2 separate regions of the Homo sapiens genome follow, and region 2 is linked to region 1. The links are contacts of gene promoters, found by promoter capture Hi-C in human tissues and cell types (Jung and others, 2019). All regions are on one chromosome and are shown on one strand. Each heading gives the region's core, a stretch centred on a gene start or on the middle of the fragment in contact. The rest is flanking DNA. Distances are from core to core; before and after follow the strand shown. Region 1 overlaps DLG1-AS1 (DLG1 antisense RNA 1). Region 2 holds the start of SMCO1 (single-pass membrane protein with coiled-coil domains 1).

Region 1 (5,292 bases), core at 123-2,622:
GGAGCTGCAGTCATCAAACAGGCTTATTCTGTGTACCCAGTGGGCAAGTACAGTCAATGGATGAAAATTCAACCAATGGACAAACACAGGAAGTTTTTCCTTAACATGAGTTGTCAGAAACTGTCCAAAATTCCAAAGAGCTGCCTCAAGGTAGTGGAAATTTTTTTTTTTTTTTAATCAGGAAGGTGCTGAATGAAGCCAGCAAGGATTCTGTGTCAGAGGGTGGTAGATACCCAGGACATAAGGTTGAACCACGTGACCTCTGAGACCACAGTTCTAAGCTGTTGAAACCTCAGTCCCTGCTGAATACTGAAATGGTATTAGCACCCTTTAGTCTACATCAAGAATTCGTTCTACCCAGTTTTGGTGGTACCAAGACTGATCTCTTTCTCATAGATAATTCTTAACAGAATAAAAGCTACAGGTTGAAACCAATTCCCTTTAAAATGTGGACAGTTGACCATCTCCATGATAGGTAGTTAGGCACTGAATTAATGCTTTTTAATGGAAGAGCCACCCTAAGATTCCTGGAGTGTGGTATAATGGAGTACTAAATCAGCATAGGACTAATAACTGCCTCCCGTGTAAACTGGTCTATCCGGAGAGTGGTATAGCCTCTCATACAGTGTTCAAAGGCAGATTTAACTCACTGCAGGTCCACAGCAACCGATAAGATAAACTCGTTGGTTATGGTCTCCCACTTTGCAAAGGAGAGCACAGAGGAAGAGGAAACTGAGATAACTTGGTTTAGGACCCCACAGCTGGCTGGAGCTGGGCTGAACATTAGTTCATTGTTTCTTCGATTAATCTATGCTGCTTTTTCTCTACTTGGCTCCTTTTCTAAATTAAACAAAACAAAACAAAAAACACTGGGCACAGAGTGGTGTATATGTGTGTGAGAGAGAGACAGAGATAGAGAAAGACTAAGCGAAAGAGAAAAGAGAGAGGCTGAGTGAGATTCAGATAAAATAAGGCACAAGTCATGGGCTAGTCTGTTGTACAGTGTACTTGTCATATATTTGAATGCCTTTAACAATGGAGACAGTTTTGATGGAAATAGGGCCTTGAAGAAATGCATATCCGCACCCTGGTGGTATGTTATAACTAAACGGGTTGGTTTTTTGTTTCGGAGTTTTTTGGGTTTCTTTTTAATGCAAAGGTATATATTTAAAATACCCTGTAGCTTCCTTCTCTCCTTCATTTCATTTCCTTAAGTATGAGAGAGGTTTTCTGGATGACGGGACATCCAAACTGGAAGTGCCCTCAGATCCCATCAACTCCCATCCCCATGTTTGAGAAGCACGTAAAGTAAGCTCCAGAAGAGCTCCCAGACAACGTCGGCACACAATTATCAGAGGACTTTTCCCTGATGGCAGAAAGCTACTGACATTTCCAGAACCATCCATCTTTCTTTTAGAGAGAAGGGGCTGGGGGTAAGGAGAAATTAGTAATCTTTTCTAGAGATACGTTTCTAAGTTTAACCAAATTTGCTTTTCTGCTTTTGAAGAACTTGTGGTATTGACAGAACCGTAGGATCCCATATGGAAATCCTCAGGATTATACTAAAATCTCCTTACATGAAACAACCTCTTCACCCCACCCCCTGCCAAGAGAATGACCATTGTCTGTTCACAGAAGGCTTTGGCCAGGGCCCTTCAGTCAGATTATCCTTATGTAGGTAGAGAAGATAAACTTGGAAACTTAATTGGAATTTGAAGAAATGCTATTAGAATTTTAGGAAGTCATTTGTATTCCATTTCTGAGATATGACCTGAATAGAATTCTGGTAAGTGGAGAAGCCAGAAGATTCTTCATAATTATATGTGGACTGTGTCCAGTGACCAATCTCATTTAGGATGGAAAACTGCCACAACCTTCCAAAACAAAGACCTGTGTGCCAGTCTTTCATTTTTGGGAAGTGACACTCACTAGGGCTGTCATTTTCCTATTCCTCATGTTGTATAACCCTAAATTCCTTTATTATTTTCTTCTATTTTACACTCACAAGAACGGTAACGATAATGAATCATTTAAATCTTGCTTTCTATTTAAATTTTCTTTAGATTAAATTAATTTCTTCCCAAGACAATTTTATCAACTGAGATTAAATATTTGTGATTAAAGCATCTTCTGCCTTTTATAAATAAATTGGGCGGCAGTTGAAGAAACTTTTCCAAATATGCTTTTTAAAAATCCTGCAAAATTTTCCCAAGTTGGATATCATTTCAACTTGCAAATTACCACATGAATAAACAAAGCCAAGCTCGAAGGGAGTAGGAGACAATGAGTCAAAAATTTAAAAGGGATGGGCCTTTACCAATTACTAATGAAGATGAACAAAGCAATTTAAGAATAAGAGAGAAGTAAATATTTAATAAGAAATGCTACCATAATAATTTGGAGAAGCTTGGGTTCAAAAGAGCAGAATAAAGCTGTATCTCTATTCTTTTTTTCTCTTGGAAAAAGACTCCAAAAATATTAGAACAAAGAGAAACTTGTTCCTCCATCCTTAATAAAAAGAAGAGTGGCTAGGCGCGGTGGCTCACACCTGTAATCCCAACACTTTGGGAGCCCAAGGCAGGTGGATTGCTTGAGGTCAGGAGTTTGAGACCAGCCTTACCAACATGGTGAAACCCATCTCTATTAAAACTACAAAAATTAGCCAGGCATGGTGGTGCCCGTCTGTAATCCCAGCTACTCAGGAGGCTGAGGCAGGAGAATCGCATGAACCCGGGAGGCGGAGGTTGCAGTCAGCTGAGATTGTGCCACTGCACTCCAGCCTGGGTGACAGAGCAAGACTCCATCTCAAAAAAAAAAAAAAAAAAAAAAAAGGAATTTAGATGCCCAGGCTCCCACATATTCAGACCGGTGACCATCTTCCCTCACTCCTCCAAAAGGCAAGAATTTGATTTATTGGAGAATAAGAGAAGTTTTAGATTTGGAACTACTAGACTCAGAGGAAGATGGTGGTGCATTATAGTACAGGAAACTAAGGGAAAATCTGTGTATTGAACAGAGATAACTCCCTCACACCCACCTCCTTCTTCCTGCTAGCCATAGCTGGAGTACCCTTCAGAGAGAAAAATGGAATTGCCTCAGAAAGATCAGTAGATACTCATAGTTGGAAGGCTTACAACGAAAGCCTAAGCCATCAGAAAAATGCAAATAAAAACCACAGTGAGGTAGACTTCACACCCACAAGGATGGCTCTGATCAAAAAGACACAGCTGTTACCATCATAACAAGTGCTGCAAAGGATGTGGAGAAATCAGAACCCCCATACACTGCTGCTGGGACTGTAAAATGGTGCATCCACTTTGGAAAACAGTCTGGGAGTTTTTTGAACACTTGGACATGTAATTTCCATAGGATGTGACAATTCCACTCCTAGGTATACACCAAAGACAACTGAAAACACGTGTCTATACACAAATATTCATTACAACATTATTCGTAATAGCTAGAAAGTGGAAACAACGCAAATACCCATGAATTGGTAAATGGAAAAATAAAATTGGTACGCCCATGTAACATAATATTATTCAGCAAAATAAAGAAGTGAAGTACTGATACATGCTATGACATGAGTGAACCTTGAAAACATTATGCTGAGTAAAAGAAGCAAGTTACAAAAGACCACATACTGCAAATTCCATTTAGATGACATATCCAGAAAAGGCAAATCTGTAGAGAGAAAAAGTAGATTAGTTGTTGCCTAGGGTTGAGGAGCATGGGATGGAAGGGGTTGGAAGGTGAGGGCTAAGGAATGAGGTTTTTTTATTTTAATAAAAATGTTCTAAAATTAACAGTGGTTTTGGACTCACAGTTCTGTGAATATACTAACAGCCATTGAACTGTGCAGTTTAAATGGGTGAATTGTATGGTGTGTGAGTTATATCTCAATAAAGCTGCTTAAAAAAAATGTCAAGCTGGTCATTTTATTGCCCTTCAAGAATGCAGACCAGGCCAGGCACGGCCTGTAATCCCAGCACTTTTGGGAGGCTGAGGTGGGCGGATCACCTGAGATCAGGAGTTCGAGACCAGCCTGGCCTATATGGTGCAACCCTATCTCCACTAAAAATACAAAAATGAGCAGGGCGTGGTGGTGGGTGCCTGTAGTCCCAGCTACTCAGGAAGCTGAGGCAGGAGAATCACTTAAACCCAGGAGGCGGAGGTTGCAGTGAGCTGAGATCGAGCCACTCCACTCCAGCCTGGGCAACAGAGTGAGAATCTGTCAGAAAAAAAGAATGCAGACCAATCAATGAGCCTCTCAAATATCTCAAATATACACAGAGCCTCCAATCAGCTCAGCTTTCAACAGGAGGAGCCAACCAAGGGTCACCACACATTATGAGAAGGCTTTCAACCTGAGGCTGGACATGGCGGCTCACGCCTGTAATCCCAGCACTTTGGGAGACTGAAGTGGGTGGATCACTTGAGGTCAGGAGTTCAAGACCAGCCTGGTCAACATGATAAAACCCCATCTCTACTAAAAATACAAAAATTAGCCAGGTCTGGAGGCATGAGCCACTGCACCCAGCCTCACTAGGAAGATTTAAATGTGGTTCTGCCTATAGACAATTTTAAAATTACTTCTCAGAACCTTTCCAAATTTAATATGTATGTGAGTCCCTAAAATTCCTGGAAACAAATAGAAGATCCCCTTAGAGTGAAAAAGTCAAGTTTCTTCCTCCTCCTAATGACAAAACTCCATGTAAAATCACTATTTAGGCTAGGCACAGTGGCTCACGCCTGTAATCCCAGCACTTTGGGAGGCTGAGGCAGGTGGATCACCTGAGGTCAAGTGTTCAAGACCAGCGTGGTCAACATCGTGAAACCCTGTCTCTACTAAAAATACAAAAATGAACCGGGCATGGTGGCAGGTACCTGCAATCCCAGCTACTCAGGAGGCTGAGGCATGAGAATTGCTTGAACCCGGCAGGCAGAGGTTGCAGTGAGCTATTGCGCCACTGTACTCCAGCCTGGGCGACATAGCGAGACTCCTTCTCAAAACAAACAAACAAAAACGAATGGATTTAAACAAGTTGGCAAGTCACTTTGCGTGCCACTACATTTTGAAATGTCAAGGGGGATTGGGATGAGAAAGTAATTCAAGAAATTGCTATATATGATGAAAGACTGAATACACACCAGACCATATATGACAACAGAACTCTGTGATCCACAACCTCTGCAGCAAGCAACCCAGGAAATCAGACAACAACCACTGCAGTAATTGGCCTAAAATAATCAGAACTTGGTCAATGACTGCCAGCTTCCCTATTTTTTTTT
Region 2 (2,700 bases), core at 1-2,500, 790 kb before region 1:
TCCAGACACATTCTTCTAAAACACAATTCCGATTCTGTGACTCAACTGATTACAAATGGTTTATGTCATCCTGGCTTGCCCAGTGATATACTCAGAGGCAAACTGGATCTCCTCAGCAGGAAAGTCAAGGGCCTTCACCCTTTGCTCCTGTCTTCCACCAGTCCCCTCACCCATCCTAGTTACCAATTACACGAGACATCTAGTTGCTGCTTGAATACATTATGTGGTTCCAAGCTTACATATGGCTTATATGCACTGTTTCCTCAGCCTAGAATGCCTTCCCATATTTTTCTCCCTCATAAGCTCCTACTTGCACTTTAAGATCCAGCTTAAATGACCCTATATGAAGAGTTCCTTTTTCTAGTGTCAAAGGCAAAATTGGTTGATCCTCCCTTCATGTTCGCATAGACCTTTAGGAACATCACCATTGTAAGGTCAGTCACATTAAATTGTAAATGTTTTTCAAACTTTTCTCTTTCCTACAGGCTGTGAGCTCCTTGAGGGCAGAAACCACATTTTACTTATTTTTGTAAATCTAGGATTTAGCATATGCATACATTCAATGGAGTTACAGCACCTGGGAGCAGACTTTTCTTTATTGTTAATTTACATAGGTTTGGGCCTGGAAGACTTAAACCACTGTAATAGAGACGGAATTCTTTTTTTGGACGGAGTCTTGCTCTGTTGCCAGGCTGGAGTGCAGTGGCACGATCTCGGCTCACTGCAACCTCCACCTCCCGGGTTCAAGTGATTCTCCTGCCTCAGCCTCCCAAGTAGCTGGGACTACAGGCGCCCGCCACCATGCCTGGGTAATTTTTGTATTTTTAGTAGAGGCAGGGTTTCACCATGTTCGCCAGGCTGGTCTCAATCTCTTGACCCTGTGATCCGCCCACCTCGGCCTCCCAGTGTGCTGGGATTACAGGTGTGAGCCACCGCACCGGCCACAGAGACAGAATTCTAATGAGCATGTCTGCAGTTCTTTATTTCTATTCTTCATTCTTCTCTTACCCATCTTCCCAGAATAGCAGACCCATGCTTGCTCCCTCCCTATAGCCCTCAGCAACCTTTTCATTGCCTCCTTCAAGGATATCAGGGTTGTGGTTTCATTGTTCATCTTCTGAAGGCAAAAGGAAAGAAAACAAAAACAAAGCAAAACAAAAAAAGCAATAAATGTTTGAATCCAGAATTTTCTGCGGTCTTCCTCTCAGCAACAGGCAGCAGTAGCAGGAGCGCTCAGTCTACATTCTGCCTGAAAGGTCACTCAGTACAAGAAGCTTTTAATAGCCTGCAGATCCAAATATAGTTTCAAAGAACTTATCTCGTGGACACAGGTGTCCTGGAATGCACTATAACATTTGCCTTTGAAAACTGAACCATAGTACATTAACATACAGCAACAACCATGTATAATTAATGACTGTGTACATTATGGTAAATGTATATACAGATACATTAACGTAACGTATAGGATTAAGTTTGATGGAAATATTACTGTCATATTTTAACTGCTTCATTATTCAATTACAACCTAAATTAGGTTTGAAGAGTGCCCCAGATCTTTTATGATGATGATATCAAAGCAAAAAATCTAACTATCATTAGAAACTACTAAATACTTGTTATGGCTGGGTATGGTGGCTCACTCCTGTAATCCCAGCACTTGGGGAAGCCAAGGTGGGAGGATTGCTTGAGCCCAGGAATTCAAGACCAGCCTGGGCCACAGAGCGAGACTGTCTCCACAAAAAATACAAAAATTAGCCAGGAGTGGTGGTGCATGCCTGTAGTCCCAGCTACTCAAGAGGCTGAAGTGGGAGGACTGCTTGAGCCCAGGAGTTCGAAGCTGCAGTGAGCTATGATCATGCCACTGCACTCCAGCCCGGGCAAGAGGATAGGATATATATATATATATATATATATATATATATATATATATATAATTATATATAAAATTATACATATAATTATATATAATATATAATTTATATCGTATATAAAATATATATATAATTTTATATAATTATATATATATTAGATTAGGAATTGAATATAAATGTGGAAATAAAATAGGACTGCTGTTTTCATGAGATTTAAAATCTAGTTGGGAAGAAAGAATATATCCTTAAATAGAAAATGTATATGGGATGTGTGCTAAGTAGATAGAGACCATAAAAATAATAGAAGGTGAGAGACTAAGTCACTGAAATCTTGGGTCCTTGGGGAGATATTCACCCTGAAGGTGGTACTTGGCTTGGCCTTAAAGGTCAAGGTCTTTGATTATCAGAGAAGAGTGTTAAGGGTGTTACGAACTGGAGAAATTGTGTGAGCAAAATCACAGAGGTGGCAAAGTAAATGATGTGTTCAGGAAACAATGAGTAGGTATGTTTTGAGCAAAAGATTCATATAAGAAAAAGAAAATAACCACACCATTTAAACTGGTAAGAGCCATGTCACGTATTTGTTCTTTCACTGAATACTTTATTCACTTATTCAATATTTACTGAGCATCATAGATATTAATTGAATGTATAAAACCTACGAATGGATGAGCAGCACTATTCCAGGCACTGGTAATATAGTGATAAGTAAGGCGAAATCCTTGTCCTCAAGGAACATACTAGCAGGGAGACAGCACATAAGGCTTATAAGAGAGGGGATGCTTCTAGCTAGCTTGGTAAGGAGTTTGGACAGATGTGAGCTGTT

What was found. Contacts are between HindIII fragments. The study calls those that stand out against the background at their distance.
Region 2: the fragment with the promoter of SMCO1 here is called in contact with a fragment that was not itself captured in region 1 in 1 of the 25 tissues and cell types used here (dorsolateral prefrontal cortex).

The regions. Positions count from the first base shown.
Region 1 is chr3:197,302,888-197,308,179 of GRCh38, forward strand. DLG1-AS1 (DLG1 antisense RNA 1) reads left to right here. Exons shown (of 3, transcript NR_038289.1): 3 at 1-864. Among named protein-coding and RNA genes, the nearest start is that of DLG1, 6.9 kb to the left of the region's middle. The HindIII fragment of the contact is 5,403 bases long and covers 1-4,074 here.
Region 2 is chr3:196,514,096-196,516,795 of GRCh38, forward strand. It overlaps SMCO1 (single-pass membrane protein with coiled-coil domains 1), which reads right to left and starts at 1,251. Exons shown (of 3, transcript NM_001077657.3): 1 at 1,065-1,251. The coding sequence starts at 1,114. The HindIII fragment of the contact is 4,365 bases long and covers 1-2,700 here.